3 separate regions of the Homo sapiens genome follow, and regions 2 and 3 are each linked to region 1. The links are contacts of gene promoters, found by promoter capture Hi-C in blood cells and fetal thymus (Javierre and others, 2016). All regions are on one chromosome and are shown on one strand. The core of a region is centred on a gene start or on the middle of the fragment in contact, and the rest is flanking DNA. Distances in the headings are between cores, read along the strand shown. Region 1 holds the start of CENPW (centromere protein W). Region 2 overlaps TRMT11 (tRNA methyltransferase 11). Region 3 overlaps TRMT11 (tRNA methyltransferase 11).

Region 1 (3,859 bases), core at 844-3,343:
GTGCTATCAAGTACAAAGAAAAACAAAAGAGAATCATATCCAATTAAATATGTTGTTTTATGGAAGGAAAAATCATGAAACTCAACAAATACTTCTGGTTTGATGAATAAACTGAAGCCTGAAAATTGGCCATAGGATTTGCAACTATGATGCTATTGGTCACGTTGGCCAAAACAATTTTGGTGAAGAGATAGCTAGAAAAGTCTGATTGTACTGGATTTAACAGAGAATAAGCGAAGAGTATTTGGAGACACTGAATTTAGCCAACGGTTTCTAGTTTTGTTTTGTTCTGTAGAAGGACAACAGCAAAAGGTAGGATTAAGAGAGGGTTTTCAAAAGCCTGGAGATATTATAAGCTGTGTGGGTGCTGATGGAAAAAAATTGGCAAAGAAGGAAAATTCATGAAGCAGAGGAGCAAGGAGAATTGCTACAGAAATGTCCTTAAGAAAGGGGAAAGGGCTTGATCTCGGGCACAAGTGGAGTAGTTGGCATCTCATCCATGGGAGCAGGTGGAGACTGATGGATAGATGGGGTGGTGAAAGCATACAGAAAGTCTCCATGGATTTTTTTAAATTTTATTTTGTTGTTGAAGCAATGTCATCACTGGAGATTGAGAATGGGGTAGGTAAGAAATAGAAGGCATGACATAGCTATGTAAGAGAATGAGTAAATGAATGAATGGCTTTAGGAAATATCAAAGGATTGTAGCAGTACTTAGAGCCCACATGAGTGGTCATGAATTTGAATTGAGATCAGACATATACCTGTGAGTGTTGTTTTCTTATGCCAATATTAATACACAGATACAAGTGTTGAATAGATTGAGATTTTAACTTAAGCAGAGTTGGAATATTGCCAGGTTAGTGTGAGGATAAAAGAGAATGGCTATAAAGTTGTGGAGAAATACAGGGCAGTATTATGATGATCGATGCATAATGGACTACAGGAGGGAAGATAAGGCATAGAGTGGGGTGGCAGAGCTGGGGGGTGTGGTGAGAGGAACTGAAAAAGATAGGACAGTAGTCCCAGTAGCATCGAAGAATTGTTGGAGGGAGTAAATTCAAAAGATAGAAGATACGGTTGAAGAGAGACAACTAAATTGAAAGTGGCAGATCAAACCGAAGGTAAAGGTATTTAGTAATGACACCGCCTAGGGTATGACCACATGCATGAATAACTCAAGGGTGTAGAAGATGACTGGCAGAGAGGAGGTCTCAGAAATGGGAGGCCAGATAGTAGAAGGATCACTTGTGTGCGTGAGATCACAATAACATAATATTGAAATCTCAATAGAGATAGTATTAGAGATAATTATAATTAAAATCACAGCGGATCTCAAAGATTGGTCTGCAGACTAGCAAATGCCAATGTCCCTGACTTGTTAGAATTGCAAATTTTGAGTATCTCCTAGATCTAGTGAATGAGAAACTGGGAGCTGGGCCCTGCGAACAGTAGTTTAACAAGTCCCCCAGGTGATTTTGATGCACATTAAGGTTTGATAACTATTAATACTTCTATAATAGCACAGATAATAGAGAAATTAACAGCTTGAAGAAATAACAAAAAGTTCAGTGAGTTAGCATGAAACTATACCTGAAAGTTATTGCAAGGTTAAGTGAGAGGAACCTTAAAATTAAAGGGAGCAGCATTTGTAAAGAAAAGCTAGAATCATGAAAAGACCTAAGATAAGATCAAATGAAATTACGTAGAAGTGTAAAATTCTTAACTGTTAGTATCTGAAAATCATGCATTCCTTGCTAGGAAGGCATGGCATTAGTGCTGTCGGAATCCTGATAAAACATCACAAACTTCTGTTCGTTGGTATTAGGGACAGTATAGAGTGAGTGCTTGAAGAACTGCCTTGGCTTACCAATCTCTCTCTCCACAACTTCCAATCATCTCTAGGGAACCTAGCAGAAACACTTCCACAGAGCAAAAGTTATAATACAGAAAGTGATGAAAGGAGGACGCAGGCTCTCAATGACGTCAGGTATTCCCGGGACCCGCCCACCGTGGGCGTTTTCCACCTACAGGCAGGCGTCTCCGGGGGCGGGGCTTGCTCAGGGTTAACGTCACTACTGAGCGCCGGGCGCGTTCCGTTGGCGGCGGATTCGAACGTTCGGACTGAGGTTTTTCTGCCTGAAGAAGCGTCATACGGACCGGATTGTTTTCGCTGGCCCAGTGTCCCCGGAGCTTGTGTGCGATACAGAGAGCACCTCGGAAGCTGAGGCAGCTGGTACTTGACAGAGAGGATGGCGCTGTCGACCATAGTCTCCCAGAGGAAGCAGATAAAGCGGAAGGCTCCCCGTGGCTTTCTAAAGCGAGTCTTCAAGCGAAAGAAGCCTCAACTTCGTCTGGAGAAAAGTGGTGACTTATTGGTGAGATTCCATCCCTTCTCGGGCTGGGAATGGGGCACGGGAGAGGTAAGGGCAATAACCTTAAGCCTTTGTTTTTCCGCCCCGAGCCAATTTATAGCTCTTTCAGGCCCCTGTTTAAGGCAGTTCCAACAATGACAGGGAACGTATGCCCCACCCTGGCATGTCAGTTCATATTCCTGGCGCTCAGTTGTACCGGGCCGCGCCGAAAAGTAAATATCTGGATCTTTTTAAAGGGAGACTGTTAGTCACATGAGCTTAACGTACAGTTACTGCTTACAGTTTTAAATATTGCTGTTTAGGAACACAATCTGGCACCGTGATTAATGTACTTGCAAAGGGTATGAAAGAATCACCCTTTAAAAAATAGATTTTGGAATTCAGTCTGGGTCATTTTTATTTAGCTATTGTAAAAGGCATTGCTCACATGCCTTTTAAGGGCCTCCCTTCTTGCCTCCCTCCCTGTCTCCTCTTTCCTCCCTTGGCTCCCTCCGTCTCTCCTCTATTTACGCATTTAACCAAACATTGCCTTATTTCCTCTAGGTGAGGGTGCTTACTAAAGGACCCTGATGGGAAAGTTTATTTGTAGGAAGAGTCCTCTCAACTGTTAATTCATTTCGCTAGACAAGTAATAGAACACCTAGTCAGTTTTTAAGCTAGACTACTAAAGCCTGCTTATCTGACCCATAATACCTGAAGCATAATGTTCTCCTAATAAGAAGCCCCAATCAAACCACTGTATAATAATGTTTCTGTCTTGAAATAAATTCAGTTTGTGTGTTGAATACCTGGAACACATATTCCTCTGGCACAATGAACACTATTTCTCTAGGTTTAAACCACTGGAGGCATGTTCGGTAGCTTGTCCTTGGCTCTTTGAGTAAAGGAGCCATTATAAATGGACACATAATTTCCAGGAGATCAAGGTACAGAATTGTGGATAATAAGAGCATACTGCATGAATCATCCTAGCTGTTCTTAAACGACATTGGTTTTTCTACCTCCTCTTTACTCTTTTGCTTCCTGGACTTCTCCACTGCCACCCCATCTGTTGCTTCCTTTTCTAAACTACTATAGAATTATCGCCCCTTTCCCCTTATTTGGTCTCTGAAGCCAAAACACAACAAAAACACATTTTCCCCCAGAAAAGTATTACTTCTATCTTCTGCCCTTATTTTTGTTACTTTCTTAAATCTTGTAAGAAGAGGCAATACAGGCTGTCTTGTGCCCCGACCCCAATTAACTATCCCATGCTGGTGATAGAGGTGGCACAAATGAACGGAATTCAAATGAAATTCACTTGCAAAACATTTTTACGTAGTATATTATGGAGCTTTCACTGGGGCTTCTAAATGGAGGGAGAGGAAATGTACCTGATCAAAGATATCCAAGAGACCACTAGCTGGTGCAAATGGCTTAGTGGAAATTCCTCAGGTAGTCAGCATCCTCCCACATCTACCCCTTTCTTCCTCCAAAGAACCCAT
Region 2 (3,859 bases), core at 419-2,918, 350 kb before region 1:
TTTCTTAAGATGAAAATCTTTAGTCGGGCATTCAAAGTCCATCACTGCATGGTTCTTTCCTTTGTGCTTTCACTTCCCACCTAGTCCTTAGTGCTGCCAAAACTGACTCATTATTCCCTGAATTCCTGCTTTCACCTTTGCTCTCTGTGCTCCCTTTAGTCTGGTTTGGGTCTTTCCCATTCTTTATTGATTTTTACATAGGAAGTATTCATTTAGAGTTAATCACATGTTTATTTCTTTTAGCTTTATATGTTTTACATGATTATTTTTCAGATCCACAGTTCCCTTTCTGTAGTTTTTCCTCCTCTGCCAAAATTCTTATTTTTTTCTTGAATCCCCTTCAATGTAGAAAGCGTAGTTATGTTAAAGTATATGATAAAAGGGATCCTGTGGGTCTGTTTCTATTGTTTCTTTTTGTTCTGTTTCATATAGTGGGCTATTTTTAAAATATATGCCAGATGTTGTATTTGAAAATTTATTTGAAAAAATAATTTGAGGGCTGGGATGATGTACATCCTCTTCAAGAAGATAGGAACGCATAGGAGCATGAGGAATCTAGGTTGGGTTTAACTCATTTTCAGGTGTTAAGCCCTGTTTGTGTTCTGATTCCCAGGTACTCACAGAGTGTAGCTTTTTGACATCCTAGTGTAAATTAGGTGGTTCATCAAGTATCCTTTTCTCCTCTGGGGGGCCCTTTCTCTTTTTTTCCCTTTCTATCGGGCACTCAGAAGGGCTGTTCACTCTTGCAGCTGTTTTTGGATTTGTAAATGTCTCAGGGAAAAAGTGGCTCCACCTTGGAATTTTTGTCCTCTCCTGGATGTTGGTTTGGTAATTTTTGTTATCTTTCTATGCCTTCAATTAGATGGCCAGCTTTTCTAGTTCTTTTCAGCAAGAAGCTTAATCTGAATTACCTCTTTTGCCATACCTGGAAGTTGAATTCCTGTCATTGGGTTAGATTTTTTTCAGGGATTGAGGCAGTTTCCATGAAACTTTACTTCTCAAACTGAAGTAATCTTTTACTCTCTTGTACTCTAATACTTTTTTGCTTTTACCTGTTTAAGAACATGTACTGTTTTTTACACTTTACATTTCAGTTGTGAGGTGGTTTTGTTGGTTCTACTAGACCATAATTTCCCTAAGATAAATGTGTGTGTATTTTTACATAGATCAGGGACTTGCACATATTAGTTGCTTAAAAATTTTTTTGGGGGTCCGGGCGCAGTGGCTCACTCCTGTAATTCCAGTACTTTGGGAGGCTGAGGCGGGCGGATCACAAGGTCAGGAGTTCGAGACCAGTCTGGCCAACATAGTGAAACCCCATCTCTACTAAAAATACAAAAAATTAGCCAGATGTGGTGGTGTGCGCCTGTAATCTCAGCTACCCAAGAGGCTGAGGCAGGAGAATCGCATGAACCTGGGAGGTGGAGGTTGCAGTGAGCCGAGATCACACCATCGCACTCCAGCCCGGGTGACAGTGTGAGACTCCATCTCAAAAAAAAAAAAAAAATTTTTTTTGGAGACTGTTCTCTCTCTGTTTTCCAGGCTACAGTGCAGTGGCGTGACCGTGGCTCACTGCAGCCTCAAAGACCCAAGTTAAGCCATCCTCCCACCTTAGCTTCCTGAGTAGCTGGGACTACAGGTGCACCACTATGTCTGGCTAATTTTTTTATTTTTATTTTTGTGGAGCCGGGTGTTAATCAGAGGCTGAGTGTTGGTGTGAGGGGGCGGGAGGGGGTCTTGGGAGCTCTCACTGTGTTGCCAGGGTTGGTCTCAGACTCCCGGTCTCAAGTTATCTCTTTGCCTCGGCCTCCCAAAGTGCTGGGATTGCAGGTGGAGCCGCCATACCTGGCTGCTTAAAATATTAAAATCAGTGATATAGAATCTCTTCTGGGAAAGGCAATGCAAAGGACAGTCTATCCTTTTGGGCCCAGCTACTGCATTAGAACTGATAAGCAAGGAAGCTATAATGAATGGCTGCCTTTATGAATTAAAATGAGAGATCAGGAATATAAGTGTGGTCCAGTTTTACCTCTGATAGAGTTAATCAGGGCTAAGTATAGTTGGCAGCTACTTAATGTAGTACTTATTGTACTAAATAGTGTTTACTAAAGTTCAAACTCCTGGGTTTTATTGCTTGTCCTGAAGCAACCTTTTAAATGGATGAAAAAGCAAGTAGCTGAAATAATAGAAAAGCTCATGGAATTAACGCATCACACATGCCCCAGATCATGCTACATTTTTATATCCAATGTTCAATATAAATTATTTTTTATTCCTAATATAGAAAGAGTCTCAACTGGAAAGTTGAATTTGCCATAAGATTAATGAACATTTTGTGTTTTGCTTTTTCCAAGTAGATTGATGAAGTGGTTTAAACATGTTTTGCTTTTCAATTTGAAACTTGGGTTATCATATTTATTCTCAGTTTTAGGTGGCTGCTTAAGCTTTGGGTAGTAGAGATAATGCTATGCCATAAAACTTTAATCTTTCACTTTTTTTCCCCACCTAACTCTTAGGATCTTTGTGTTTTAGCTTGTTGCAGCTTTTTAACAGTATATTCCAGGAGCAGCAAACTTTGGTGTTTTAACTTGGTTATAGTTGGATGTTTTAAATGTAAAACTGACTTTACAATATGCTTTAATATAGAACAAACAACAATCATGCAAGATGAAGTAATTTAATCTATAACTTTATTTTTTTTCTTTTAAGTGCTATAACTCTATCAGTCTTGGTTGACTTCTTGAGCCACTGGACTTCTAGGACAGTTATCAGGGTCCTCATCATTTTGATTCCCTTAATAACCACCTAGGTTCTATGCTTCTCTCTTTATAGTTCACCTAACCTGATGAGGTAGCTATGATTCCTGTTTCACATTTGAGGGAACTAAAAGTTGGAGGATTTAAGATTCTTGTATAAAGCCACATCGCTAGTATTTGGAAGAGCTGAAAATCAGATTATGGTCTATTTAATTTCTAAGTCTCATGATGTCTCCTATTCAGATTTGTGTTTTCCTTGCTGCAAAATAACCTTTGGGCTGCCTTCACTGATTTATCAGTAGTCTGTGATAGTTCTTGGTCGATCCATCTGATTGGACTGAATTCAGCCCCTTCTAACACTGAATTTTAAAAAATGATTTGTTGCATAGACAAAATAGAAATGGCACTAGTAGCTTGAACTTCTCATTCTTCTTGGTCTTGGAGTGGGGGACTTCCTGGTCTGGGTATAGTTTCCCTTTTGATGGCGGTGGGCTTGGTGTTAAAGGCTCTTCCTTCTGGTTGGGAGGAAAGGGGATAGTAGGTAGCCAGCAGTGGAACACTTACCTCTCATTAGGTTCCATCCTCCATGAGACCTATATGGAAGAGTGTGATTCTACCTGTTTTATGTGATTTAAGGAGATAACTTGTTAGTCATACAAATTATAAAATTTGTATAATTATTTGGGTTTATCAGTACAAAGTGATTGCTTCAAAGAATATAAACACTCTCTGGACAGATTTCAACTTTGCATGAATGATGCTTTTAAAGTATCTATTATGTTAGTTCTGTTTCTAGTTCTGTAACTTTACACAGAAAGAAGATGAGATAGTTATTTGTGCTTAATGAATACATAGTGGTATGCCCTGGCTGATTATTTTTTTCTTTTCCAAACATCTTCAAATCATGTGTCTGATTTTCATTTTAACTTTATTCATCAATCGTCAGTCTTACTAATCTGCACTTTGTGTAACCTGTTTTTTTCCTTTCCAAAATCAGGGAATTTTTTGATCAAGTGTTTGCTAACTCTTCTGTTGTCGAAAATTTCTCAGAAATTACTTACCTGTGGTTTTTATTATTAGATTATTTCTGAACCCTAAATTGT
Region 3 (3,859 bases), core at 889-3,388, 330 kb before region 1:
CCAGGTGTTAAGGAACTGACTGTCCTGGTTCTGGGAAGAGAAAATGGGGAGAAAAAGAGAAGGTTAGGAGAGTGAGATAATGGATCTCTGTAGTTTATATAATATTCTCTTTCGCATTTTTTTCCCACTACCCTTTGTAGTCCCCTTTTCCTGGAATCCCATGGTTCGTCTAGTAGGAGTCCCATTGTCTAGCAGTATTCTTTTGCTCGGCCTGCTAATTTAATTTATTTAAGTAGAATTCTTTTTTTAAAAAAGATAAAATAGATGCAATAATATTGCCATTTTTCTTTCTTTTTTTTCTCTCAGCAAAACCAAAGCCCAGTCTCTCATTTCTCCACGTTTGCAAAGCTTTCCAGTTAGTTCTTTAAAGATGAAAATCATGAATTAGTTTTTACATCATGGAATAAATTCAATTCTTATTGTATTATTTTGCCTGTAAGATACTACCCTAACCTTAAAGTGCTTACTATTTAAGTAATGAGAAATTGAAACACCGAGTTGCTAGCATAGATCACATATGCAGTATTTTTACTTTTGGTAACGCAAAAAGAAATGGGTGAGTCATGTTACTTGCCTCCTTGACACTTCACTCTCCTTTTTTTTTTAGCACCCCTTCTTCCACCAAAAAGATCCCCTAAAAAACTCCAACTGAGGTATAGCTAAATGTAAAAAGTGCTTCAATTTAATCAAAAGAACAACTAGATGACTACCAATGATTACCCAGTGACCAGTTCAGATAAGCTAATTTATTATGATTTTATTTAAAAAAAAATAAAAGCTTAAAGGGCACGAAGTTAAGTATCAGGTGCAGTCTAACAGATTATTCATCTCCTTTCAGCAGTGTACTTGTAAATTGGGTCTTCTCAAAACTCACTCTAACCAAATGGATAAGGTTCTGTTAAGGAAGCACAGGAAAGCTTTTCTGTTCCCCTTGACAACTAGTTCTTCTAGGTGAGTATCTGCCTTAATTGGCAGAATTGTAGTAATTCCTTGTAATTTGGGTGAAGTGACTTTGTGAGTATTCCAAGTCATCACTTATGCTGCTTTTTCTAAATATGGAATGTTCCATTTCCAGAGTCAGAATTATGAGGACTTTTTAACCTTCCCTCTCACATAAATGCTTTTTGTAGTTAGTATGAGAGGACATAGGTTTTGGTTTCTGCTGTACTTTTAGTCTTTCATTTCTCTTCTTCATGGGTTCTAAAAAGAACTAGTCAGTTATAATATTTTCATGAACAAAGTATTTTTAATTCCATGCTACCAGACTATGTTTTAAATGGCTATGGAAGGAACATCATTAATTTATGGATCTTGACCCTCCAGAGGCACTACCCATCTTAGTTACAGAGATTACATCTCAAAAGGTTATAAGGGAAAGAGCCCCAGTATTTTTTCCCCTTGTCCAAGTCTGTGCATATTTTGTAGTTGAAGAATATATTTATGATTTCAGCTTGACTAGCAGGCCTTCCTAGAGTATAGCTAATTAAGACTTGCCCAAGCACTAAAAGCATTTTAATTTGAATGATTAAAAAAAGTGAATTTAATTAAAAGTACAATTATTAAAAGTTCAGTTAATTGTGTACAATTTTTTCTTAATTTAAAAATAGTATTACCTTTCATTTTAAAGAGTTTCATTATTATTTTAACCTTTATTAAGATTTCTCTTCATGCATGAGCTGGTCACATCTGTCACATTACTTTGTCTGGTCAGATTGTATTGGGACAGTTGTTCTTACTTTGGTCACAGCACTAATAAAAACAGTTTATTAATTATTTTGTGCATGTTTGATAATAGTTACTCAGAAATTTGTATTTACAGTTTAAAACAGGAGATAATTACTTGATTGGTTACAGGAGTAACTATATTAAAATAGTTAATTCTTACAAAAATTAAAATATGTCCTAACCTTTTAATTTCTGTAAGAACTAATGTCTCACATAGTAATTATGCCCTATTTGTTTGAAACTCTGACTTCAGTGGGAATTGAGCCTAGTCATCAGAATTTATTCTGTTTATTGCCAGCTCTTTGTATAAACAGCCTTATATGCTCATTTTTAAGAAAGGAGCAAAATGTTTTTGTGTAGAGCTCTAAAAATAAGATGAAAATGTCTAAATATACATTATTTTGACCAAAAAAAAGATAAAATAGTGCTGTTTAAAATAATGATGCCAGGGTATACATTAATTTCTCTACTTTGTTACCAGTTTAGTGACTATAGCTTAGGGGTTTGTTTTTTCAGTCCTGAGGCTTACTAAATATGTTACGACCAATGTCATTCCAGGATACTCTGCCTGCAGCTAGTTTCTAAGACTGGATGAAGTTAAATAGGAACAAACAGGAGTTTGGGACTTACTGGTTAACAGGTCAAAATTGTGTGATTTTTCAGGTGGCCTGCTGATAGCATGTGCTCATTTTGGTGCATATGTGTATGGGACAGACATAGACTACAACACAGTTCATGGCTTGGGTGAGTAGAGATTATAGACAGTATTATAGTCATTGCTGTGGTGCCAAATGTACCTTTAAACATACAGTTGACCCTGGAAGAACACAAGTTTGAATTGCACAGGTCCACTTATACTCAGATTTATTTCCATCTCTGCCCTCTTGAAACATCAAGGCCAATCCCTCCACTTCCTCTTCCTCCTCAGCCTGCTCAACATGAAGGTGATGAGGATGAAGACCTTTATGATGATCCACTTCCACTTCATGAATAGTAAATCTATTTTTACTGAATAAAGTAAGTATAACAGTAGGCTGTTAGTAGTTAAGTTCTGGGGGAGTCAAAAGTTATATGCATATTTTTGACTGTGTGAGGAGTGGGCACCCCAACCCCATGTTGCTCAAGGGTCAACTGTAGTTTTATATGGCATTATTTTAATCTTCAAATACAAAATTGTGATATAATTTTACTTGTTTTTATAAGACTTCATTGGGTATCTACTTTTATGATCCATTGTGTACAGAGTGATTTCCTGGGGGAACATGAAGGTGAATGAGAAAAAGTCCTGCTCTCAGAGGGCTTTAAGGAAGTGCAGGAAAGTGATAACCCAGTGACCAGTTCAGACCTATAATTTATTAATTATAACTAATTAATAAATATACATGATAATGAAACATATTTGGTTAAGATTATCACCACTCATTTAAAGATTATCACCAAAATTATTCACTAATCATACATTGACTATATACTGGATTAATAACTAGTCTTTGAGGTACTATTTATGTTTCTAATTTTATAACTGACCAAAACCTCTTTAAAGTAACTTTAAAGATTCTGCCTTGAACTGAGAGTACTTGAAACAGTCATCTGCTTTACTTTTCAGGTAATTATGGAAAATATTTTAAACTCTAGAAGCTTCAATAATGATGTGTGATTGGATGGAATTGAATCAAACTGAAAAAGTATTTCCTTATAGCTTAATGGTATTGAAAATGTCATTTTATTGATGATTTTGAGATTATTTGTGTTTATGTTGGTATTCATTATAATAACTGGGATCAGCCCTTATAATACTCTTTTCCTTTTCCTCACCCAGTATAAGTTATTGTATTGGTGAGCATTTATTATACTTTATTTTCTTTTGTGGAAGTAATTTGATATCTTGTACTGGTGACCTGTCTTTTTCCCTACCTTGACTGTAAAGAATTTAGTAACATTTATTAGGAAAATGAGTTATAATTTATTAGGTGTATATAAATGGGCTAGCAAGAAAAAGATATTCTTTATCTGAAATCTGTTTTAAAAAGTACTAAGAATTATTCCAATTTGCTTTTAGTAGAAGCAGTATATTTCTTTTAAGGAAATTGTCTTATATAATTTACTTGAATTTTTATTTATTAAAGTTATGTTT

The links. The method cuts DNA at HindIII sites, captures the fragments that hold promoters and counts their contacts. A CHiCAGO score of 5 or more calls a contact.
Region 2: a fragment that was not itself captured here is called in contact with the fragment with the promoter of CENPW in region 1 in 1 of 17 cell types (erythroblasts); the score reaches 7.8 in erythroblasts.
Region 3: a contact is called between a fragment that was not itself captured here and the fragment with the promoter of CENPW in region 1, in 1 of 17 cell types (erythroblasts). The highest score is 6.1, in erythroblasts.

What each region holds. Positions count from the first base shown.
Region 1 is chr6:126,338,022-126,341,880 of GRCh38, forward strand. It overlaps CENPW (centromere protein W), which reads left to right and starts at 2,094. Exons shown (of 3, transcript NM_001012507.4): 1 at 2,094-2,378. The coding sequence starts at 2,253. RefSeq lists enhancers at 1,984-2,253, 2,264-2,313. The HindIII fragment of the contact is 14,002 bases long and covers 1-3,859 here.
Region 2 is chr6:125,989,755-125,993,613 of GRCh38, forward strand. All of the region lies in intron 1 of TRMT11 (tRNA methyltransferase 11), which reads left to right. Among named protein-coding and RNA genes, the nearest start is that of TRMT11, 5.1 kb to the left of the region's middle. The HindIII fragment of the contact is 1,548 bases long and covers 895-2,442 here.
Region 3 is chr6:126,006,004-126,009,862 of GRCh38, forward strand. It overlaps TRMT11 (tRNA methyltransferase 11), which reads left to right. Exons shown (of 13, transcript NM_001031712.3): 8 at 2,389-2,469. Among named protein-coding and RNA genes, the nearest start is that of TRMT11, 21 kb to the left of the region's middle. The HindIII fragment of the contact is 2,446 bases long and covers 916-3,361 here.